Linked DNA regions of Homo sapiens: regions 1 and 3 are each linked to region 2. Evidence: promoter capture Hi-C in human tissues and cell types (Jung and others, 2019). All regions are on one chromosome and are shown on one strand. Each heading gives the region's core, a stretch centred on a gene start or on the middle of the fragment in contact. The rest is flanking DNA. Distances are from core to core; before and after follow the strand shown. Region 1 overlaps RAB31 (RAB31, member RAS oncogene family). Region 2 holds the start of RAB31 (RAB31, member RAS oncogene family). Region 3 overlaps RAB31 (RAB31, member RAS oncogene family).

Region 1 (3,121 bases), core at 291-2,790, 91 kb after region 2:
CCATCGCAAAGAAAAATACCAGTGGGAAGTTTTCAGATGACCATATTTCTAATTATTGTGATTGCTTTTCCTAAAATTTGACTTTTAGAGGTTGTAGACATCTGACTCCATTGATACATCCATAATTTTAAAGAAATCACTAGCATTATACATGCAAGGCATGACTCCACAGTAGGGATATTCTTTCTTTATACTTCGAGGAAGACGGATTTAGTTTGGGATAACGATTTCAAAGTGAACATTTTTAGAGTCTAGATTTGTGGAGAGTGTGTGACTGATATCCATGTGGCTATGTGGTCACCTGATCTCCCCAGCCCTCGACGGCCTGATTTCATTATCCTTGGGCTGTCCTTGTCTGGTGTCCCCTGGTGGAGTCTTGCATCTCTCCAGTAATGGCAATTTTTCAATTGTTTTGGCAGCTTGTTGCTGGCTTTAATTGTGCTTGTAATGATGTTGCCTAATGTTTGAGCTAAAAATAAATTCCCTGCTGTTGCTTGTGCCTATTGCTATTTGTTCTGTCTCATTAATTATTGGAGTCCCGTGAATTTTATTACCCCTCTTTATCATCATAGAAATGTTATTGTTCTTTTAGTTTTCATAATTTTAAACAAACAATCACTTTGGGTTTATGATTTGACAATATAAAGACAGATTTCTTTTTTTCTTTCTTATTTTATTTTATTTTATCTTTTTAAGACAAGGTCACACTCTGTCAGCCAGGCTGGAGTGCAGTGATGCAATCATAGCTCACTGCAACCTCAAACTCCCAGGCCTGGTCAATCCTCCTGCTCCAGCCTCCTGAGTAGCTGAGACTACCAGTGTATGCCACCATGCGCAGCTAATTTAAAAAAAAAAAAAAAATTGGGCCAGACACAGTTGCTCACGCCTGTAATCCCAGCACTTTGGGAGGCCGAGGCGGGCAGATCACGAGGTCAGGAGTACGAGACCAGCCTGGCCAACATGGTGAAACCCCGTTTCTACTAAAAATAGAAAAAGTAGCTGGGCGTGGTGGCACTTGTAGTCCCAGTTACTTGGGAGGCTGAAGTGAGAGAATCGCTTGAACCCAGAAGGCGAATGTTGCAGTGAGCTGAGATTGCACCACTGTACCCCAATCTGGGTGAAAGAGCAAGACTCCACCTCAAAAAAAAAATTTGTTAGAGATGAGGTCTTGCTATGTTGTGCAGGCTGGGCTTGAACTCCTGGCCTCAAGCAATCCATTTCACTTGGCTTCCCAAAGTGTTGGGATTATAGGCGTGAGCCACCAAGCCTGGCCAAAGACATGGATTTCTGTGTCCTTAAAGGAAGAAAGCTCCGCTCAGTGCTTTGCTTGTGTTCATGATTCAATATTTATTTATTTGTGGAATGATTGCACCAAGTTCTGCCTAACATACACAGCATTCTGGTTAATGTCCTACTTACTGCCCAGTAATAATTCTATCTTATATTTGTGGTACAAATTTGTACTCTTGGAAAATTATTTTTTCTTCTCCTGAGCACAGGAATCTCAAAGGATCCTCCTCCTCTTTATATAAGAGAGTATTCATTCTATTTATTTTTATTTATTTATTTTAGAGACAGGGTCTCACTCTGTCACCCAGGCTGGAGTGCCATGGCATGATCATAGCTCATTGTAGTCTCAAATTCCTGGGCTCAAGCGATTCTCCCGCCTCAGCCTCCAGAGTAGCTGGGACTACAGGTGCGCCACCGTGCCCAGCCTATTCATTCTTGATACTGTCTGAATGTTGCTTTTGCTTTTTTAATCCAACTGTGTGTCATGGGCATCCTATCTCATTCATTCAGTGGTGATATGGTAATTCATAGGGTGCATCTATTAACAAAAATGTTTTTTGAAAAATTTAACCATTTCCCAGTTGAATCCCATTTGTTGGAAGCTTGACATTAGTAAGATTTGTGCATGGTGTGTTGTACCACCAAGGACTATGAAGAGGGGAAGAGTGCCATTGGGCTCCCTCTGTTGTACCATCAGTGTGGCCTTTGGGAAGTTTTTATCCTGTCCTCTTGGAATGGGTTATTGTGCTGGTTTCTGCTTCACACCAAGCTGTGAACAGTACAGAGTAGCAGGTCAGCAGGCACCTTTGCAAGGATGTACACAGGAGCCATGCCTAGAGCGGTCCATAGCCGACAGAAGGTAATTTACCTGCCCAGCTCCCTGCGGGAGCCTAGAGTCAACACATAGAGTGGCTTTTAGCGAGAGGAGCTGAAAAGCAACATTGTCATAAATAAGGCATGCGTTCATGAAGAGGTGAAGAGCTGGGGATAATACTTTCATCTGCCAGCGGCCCCTCCTGGGTTCTCTTGCTCTATATACCATGGAGGACCAACTTCTTCCAACCTGAAACTTTCTTCAGCCATCTCCCTTCCATTTTTTTCCACCGTGCTATACTTTTACACAGTTCATGACGTTCCAACACAAATTTCCCATTAAAAAACCTGAAGCTGTAGAGCTAATGTTTGACTTTCCATGGCTCTGAAGATATATTTATTCCTTCCTCTTGGCTCAGACGGCCCCTCCCCATGTTGGAAAATGGTTTCTAAAAAGAGCCCAGTGAAGCGGCAGTGGTGGAATTCTCTGTACTTTTTCCTTGGCAGGGAGTTCTTTCCCTGACCCCCTTCTTACCTGTTCTAGACCCACTCAAGCTTCTGTCTCTGAGCTTTCTGTCCTCATTCTCTGTTGGCCTTGGAAGCAGATGAGCCAACTTTCATCTTTTCTGGATAACCCACTCTGGAGCTTTAGCAGTTAGAAATCACATTCACTGAAAATTGCTTTTGTCCACATTTGTTTCTGTGTTGACTATCAGTATGTGGAGTATGACCAGCCCCCCTTTTTTTTTATTTAAAAACAGCTTTACTGAGATCCGATTCACGTACCATACAATTTATCCATCTAAAGTACGCACCTTGGTGGGTTCTGATGTGTTCCGAATTGTTCAACCATCAGCACAATCCATTTTAGAGCATTTTTATCAGTCCAGAAAGAAACGCTTATGAATTAGCAGTCACTCCCAGTTCCCCCTCTACATCCCCCAGCCCTGGGATACTTTCTGTCTCTAGATTTGCCTAATCTGGACATTTCACACAAATGGAATCATACAACCTGTGG
Region 2 (3,070 bases), core at 309-2,808:
AAAAGGACATGTTTCACTGTGGAGGTGCCCTCAGGGCTGGCGAAGGCCTTGGGGGAGGTGTCTTTGCAACTGTGTAGGGGTGGTTTTCTGATTAGCAAATCTGAGGGCAGGGAGATATTGTGATCAGGACTGTTTGATTCTGGGGAAGCCTCTTTTTACCCTGCCCACATAGAAGACTCTGCTTTGGATACAGAGTCAAGGACGGATACTGATACAATGGACCTGTAACTTGTCCATGGCTGCCTTTTGTACAGTTTAGTCCATTTGAGTAATCTCTACAAGCCTGCACCTCGAGGGCAAACTTCCTGCTCTTCTGGGGAATTTAATTGTGAATTGTCTGTTTCGGGGCCCATTTTGACTCCTGTATTCCAGGACTTATCTCTTTGGAGGCCTTGATTTGGAATTTCCCATTGGATGGGGCTACTTGGGTACTGGGTAGCTTCAACCTGGCTTCCGTAAGAACAAAGCCAGATGATCACGGTGGGTGGTCTGCTAGGAGAATGGAAATGCCATTGATTAAAATTGGAAGGTTAAGAGAGAGGCCTGAGAGTTTGGGATAGGAGATGAAGTTTCAAAAAATCAGTTTTTAAAAAAACATTTCCCATCTGAAATGCCAGTGAATTGTTCAGATAGATTACATTGAAAAGGCTGACATTTCTGTAGCAGCAACGAATGAAGTCATCCGAGTGGATGAGGTGCTCTAGGCCATACATGGAGAAGAGAACACAGTTACCCAAGCCTCCCCGACTGTGTGCGGCCACAGACTCTGCTCATTTCCCAGTTAGGAACGATGCAGGGGTCTGCTGGGATCTCCACGTTTCTACCTGTACCTCTGAGGACTGGGTTTCTGCCCACACGAGTTGCAGGATTTGCTCTACTGAGAAAAAGACTTTTGCTCCAGAAAGCAAGTTTCCCGTTTCAGACACGGACAGCGAGTTTTGCTTCTAGAATCATTTTCAGCTGCATACAGAAAAATGAACTTGGCTGAGCTGAAGAGCCACACATATGTTAAACGGAAGCTCGGGTATTAGGAACGTCGAGAAAGGCAGGCCGAAAAGTTAGCCCCCTTCTCCTCACCCCTGTCCTCACAGCGGCCCCTTCAGTGGCCTGACTTTTTCTGCGTGGGACCCAGAATGTCGCTTGAGGATGGGACCCCCGCAGACCTCCACGCGCTGCCACGCAAACGGCCTCGGCCGAGAGCATTCGCTTTCCAGATGAGAATGGCATCTTCAGGGACCCGCTGGTAGTGGGGCCAGGTCTCCACAGGGCCGGTCCAGTCCTTCCTACCCACCCGGGCCCTGCGGCCAGGCGGGGCCGGGAGGGGCGGATGCCGGAGGGCGCTGGGGGAGGCCGACCCGCGCGGGGCTGGTCCGAGGGCGGAGGCAATCCGCCGGCGACGCCGCAGGTCCCGGGTGGCTGACGCCGTCCGGGGGCGTTCCTGGGAGCTGGGGGCCGGCGAGGCTGGACCCGACGCGCCCGGGAGGAGCCGGCCGGCGGCCACGTGACCCACCGCGGCGGGGCCGGCGGCCCAGAAATAGCAGCGGCGGCGGTTCCGCCCGCGGGCGGCGCGAGCGAGGGGCAGAGGCGAGAGACGCCGGCGGGGCGCGGGCGCGGCGGCCCCGGAGGATGCTGCTGAGCCCCGGCACTGCCTGGCTGCGAGCACATGATGGCGATACGGGAGCTCAAAGTGTGCCTTCTCGGGGTGAGTCCTGGCCGCCACCCGCCGGCGGACCCCGGCCCGCGCTCTCGCGCCCCTTCGCTCCCCTATTCCCTGCGCGCTCAGTCCCCGTGATCCCCTCGCTCTCCGCACCCCTCTCGTAGCCCCCGTCCCCCTCGTCCGCGCGCCCCCTGGTTCCCCGGGTCCCCCTGGCTCCCCTAGTCCGTGCGCCCCTCGCTCTCCGCGCCCCTCGCTCTCCGCACCCCGCCTGTTCTCCGCCTCCCCGCCGTCCGTGCGCCCCTCTGGTCCGCCCCCGCTCTCACCCTGCCGGGGTCCGGGTCCGAGCCTGCCCCGGGCTTACTCCGCTCTTTCCTCCCGGCCCGCGAGTCCCCGGATCCGCGGCGACCTCGCGGGGACCCCCAGCGGGGACGGGGCAGTGGCGGCGAGTCTGGGGCCCCGAGGGCTTTCTCCTCCGCTTTTGATAGTTTCCTTCCGGCAGAAAGTTTAAGTTGCTCAGCCAAGTCGCTGAGTGCTCTTTTGCCTCCTGGGGGCAATTGATTTACTCACGTAAAACAGAAAAATAAAACCAAAAGCGAACCCAGCCAAGGGGGTGAAAGCCGAGGGCGCGGCCGGGGTGGAAGGTGAGGCAGTGACCTGTGCGGAGCGCGCCCTGCAAACTTCCCTGCTGCGGGTGAAAGAAGCTGCCTGGGAAAGTCCTCCCCACCATCACTCCCCTAAAGTGGGGTTTTCTCCGCCCGAAGAAGCCTTAAAGCAGCCAGAAACAAAAAAGCAGTCAATCCGTGCGGCCCGGGGACTGCAGACAGGGGACCCGGCGAGGACGCAGGGAGCCGCTGGCGAACCGCCCCTGGGAATTCAGATAAACGTAGGGTCGCTTCCTTTCGGGGGCCCACTCCGCATTCCAGAATTCCTTCTTCTAAAAGAAGAGCCGGTTCTAAGGGCGTTTTCAGCAGCCATTAGCATCTGGTGTACCCGCCCGTGTCATTGGCAAAGCTGGTCTCATGAAAACCATTTCCTAAAAAAGGGCAGCGAAAGGGTCGCATTCTTGTGCGAACTGATCTGTCAAGATGGGGGTACAAGAACTGTAGAAAGAGGAAATGATTTCGGTGAGGACTGAATTGTGCCAGCGTCTCTAGGCTTCCTCTAGGCTCTTGTGGAACCTCCGGCAGGCTCCCATCATCGGCTCCCATCACCGGCCTCTTCCAAAACCATCCCTTACGCTAACTCGATTGTCCGGTTGGCTTAGAATTCCAGAGGATCTGGGAAGGCCCTGCCCTCCCTGCTAGCCCCTGGCACAGATCCGCACAGATCCCCACCTCCCCCGACTTGCTCAGCCACAGCCAGGATCTAGTCTGGTCTTTCTCTGTTGACCTTTTTGTGTGGCAGGAGTGGGTT
Region 3 (2,836 bases), core at 176-2,675, 73 kb after region 2:
TTAATTGTGACACAGACAAGATTAAAGTCTAATTGTTTTGATTATAAAAGTTCATGTTCGACTGGGCGTGGTGGCTCCTGCCTATAATCCCAGCACTGTGGGAGGCTGAGGCAGGTGGAACATTTGAGCCCAGGAGTTTGAGACTAGCCTGGGCAACAGGGCGAAACTTGGTCTCTACAAAAAAATACAAAAATTAACTGGGTGTAGTGGCATGTGCCTGGAGTCCTAGCTACTTGGGAGGCTGAGGTAGGAGGATCACCTGAGACCTGGAGGTTGAGGCTGCAGTGAGCCATGATTGTGCCACTCTACTCCAGCCAGGGCAACAGAGTGAAATACTGTTCCAAAAAAAAAAAAAAAAGTTCATGTTCACTCTAAAAAAAACCCAAAGAACACAGAATTCATGAAACTAGGAATCTTAGTGTACATACAGTTTTTTTTTACTCTGTGTTTTCTACTTAATATATTTTGAACATTTTTTACAGTGTCACATAATCTTCAAAAACATGTTGAAAGTATTTTTTCTGATTATAAAAGTATTATATACTCATCATAAACAACTGAAAATGAAAAAAACATGAGGAAAAATATTTTAAAAACCCATAATCTACCTCTTAGAGGTAATTACTGTAAACATTTTGTTATTTTCTTCCAGCCCTTTTCTTGTATAAGTGTGTGTATGCGTTATTTATTCAACATCATTTTGTGAATTTCATGCCATTAAATAGTCTTTAAAAACAATTTTTAATGGTTGTATTTTTCACTTCAGGCATTTAGGTTGTTTAAACACTTTTGTACTTTTATAAATAATGTTATGAGGCTAGACACGGTGGCTCACGCCTGTAATCCCAGCACTTTGGGAGGCCAAGGCAAATGGATCACCTGAAGTCGGGAGTTCAAGACCAGCCTGGCCAACATGGTGAAACCCCATCTCTACTAAAAATGCAAAATTAGCCAGGCATGGTGGTGCACGCCTGTAATCCCAGCTACCTTGGGAGGCTGAGGTAGGAGAATCGCTCGAACCCGGGAGGCAAAGGTTGCAGTGAGACGAGATTGTGCCACTGCACTCTAGCCTGGGTGACAGACAGAGTGAGACTCTTGTCTCAAAAAACAAAACAAAACAGAACAAAACAAAACATAAATAAATAATGTTATGATGTACCTCGTTGGGCATAGATACCCATGTATACTGCTGATTATTTCTTTAGGTTAAACTCTTAGCAATGGAATAATTTAGTCCAAGAATAAAAATCTATTTAAGGCTCTCAATGGATATTACCAAATTGTTTTTCGGAAAGGTTATCTCTGTACCAGCTTTAGGTATTTTTTTTTGTACAATTTTTAACTTTATAAAATTGTAAAAGTTTGTATGATTTTGAATTCTATTCTTTTCCTCTAACTTCAAATGTTCGCATTTTCTCGTAGCTTAATGTTTCTTTGTTAAAACAATTTTACATGATGGCAGCATGGTATTGTGTGCTGTTCTTTTTTCTTTTTTTTTATTTGAGACAGAGTCTTCTCTGTTGCCCATGCTGGAGCACAGTGACGCGATCTTGGCTCACTGCAACCTTTACCTCCCAGGTTCAAGCAATTCTCATGCCTCAGCCTCCCAAGTAGCTGGGATTACAGGCACTCGCCTCCACGCCTGGCTGATGTATTTTTAGTAGAGACAGGGTTTCACCATGTTGGCCAGGCTGGTCTCGAGCTCCTTACCTCAGCTGATCTGCCCGCCTTGGCCTCCCAAAGGAGTTTACAGGCGTGAGCCACCGCGCCCAGCCCTGTTCGCTTTCTACCTCGTCCCTTGCTTTTCCTCTGGAGTCAATGTTAGGCTCAGCCCCTCCACCCTTATGTATTGTCTTCTTGATATAATTTAACTTCTTGATTTAAAAATTGATGAAAATTTTCCCTCTGGAATTTTGAGAAAATGTTTTCAAACACCAGTTGCAGAAAAATAAAGCTAGTGGGAACACTTTCTAAGTGACACATGCAGTTTTCCTGGAAGGTGGCATAAATGGAACACTTTTAAAACGTTTGAGTGCTTTCCCAAAAGCTGGTAGGTTCGGTGGGCTGAGGAACTGGCTTATATTAATATATTTGTTTTGTTCAGCCTTCACAGTGCTGTAAAGACTTTAAGCCAATAGAGAATCAGGAGACTGGCACGTAATAAACTTGCATTCCTGGTTTCTCTTGAAAAATCAGTGGGTTTGGAGCCCTGGTGCCCATTCCCATGTGGTGGGAGCCAGCCGGTGCCACTCCGCATGGGTGGCCAGGCCTCCCGGCTTCATGCCATTCCCGCTAGGTATTGTTACTATTATGTTCATCAGTATAAACGTTCACACCTAGCCTGCTTCACTCATTTATATGTCCTGCCTGGTCCCTAGACATTTCAGTTCCTGGCCCTGGCACTGCCTTCTTGGCGGTAACCCTGCTGGCCACCCCCAGGCCCAGGGCGGTTAGGGGACTTGCCTAGGTGCACACAGCCCGTGAGCAGCCCACTCATGGCTCACACCAGTGAGTCCACTCTCAAAGCCCACCCTTGTTCTTCCCACTGGAATCACACGACCATTGGTACAATGCCATGGGCTGTAAAATGCCATTGCTTCAGCATTAAAAGAGTTAACTCTTATGGCCTCTCTGACTCACACTGAAAAACCTTGGCTCTGCTATTCAAGCAGATTGCATTAACATCTTGAGTGTGTGTGTATGTGTGTGTCTCCCTTTTTATTTCAACTTTTGTAAGGAAATTGTGTAACTTCTCTGCCAGATTTTGGTTTCCACAGATAATGAAGTCAGTTTATCAGGGCCAGTGCGCCTCCTCCACCAGTTTGGAGGGTAATCT

Evidence for each region. The method cuts DNA at HindIII sites, captures the fragments that hold promoters and counts their contacts. A contact is called where the count stands out against the background at its distance.
Region 1: a contact is called between a fragment that was not itself captured here and the fragment with the promoter of RAB31 in region 2, in 2 of the 25 tissues and cell types used here (IMR-90 fibroblasts and dorsolateral prefrontal cortex).
Region 3: a contact is called between a fragment that was not itself captured here and the fragment with the promoter of RAB31 in region 2, in 2 of the 25 tissues and cell types used here (liver and mesenchymal stem cells).

The regions. Positions count from the first base shown.
Region 1 is chr18:9,797,944-9,801,064 of GRCh38, forward strand. All of the region lies in intron 3 of RAB31 (RAB31, member RAS oncogene family), which reads left to right. Among named protein-coding and RNA genes, the nearest start is that of TXNDC2, 86 kb to the right of the region's middle. The HindIII fragment of the contact is 3,726 bases long and covers 1-3,121 here.
Region 2 is chr18:9,706,743-9,709,812 of GRCh38, forward strand. RAB31 (RAB31, member RAS oncogene family) reads left to right here and starts at 1,559. Exons shown (of 7, transcript NM_006868.4): 1 at 1,559-1,702. The coding sequence starts at 1,664. LOC124904244 (a long non-coding RNA gene) reads right to left here and starts at 1,230. Exons shown (of 2, transcript XR_007066281.1): 1 at 1-1,230. It overlaps LOC105371981 (a long non-coding RNA gene), which reads left to right and starts at 1,930. Exons shown (of 2, transcript XR_935131.2): 1 at 1,930-3,070. RefSeq lists silencers at 1,254-1,823, 1,924-2,153. The HindIII fragment of the contact is 12,091 bases long and covers 1-3,070 here.
Region 3 is chr18:9,779,834-9,782,669 of GRCh38, forward strand. The region is part of intron 2 of RAB31 (RAB31, member RAS oncogene family); the gene reads left to right. Among named protein-coding and RNA genes, the nearest start is that of RAB31, 73 kb to the left of the region's middle. The HindIII fragment of the contact is 8,364 bases long and covers 1-2,836 here.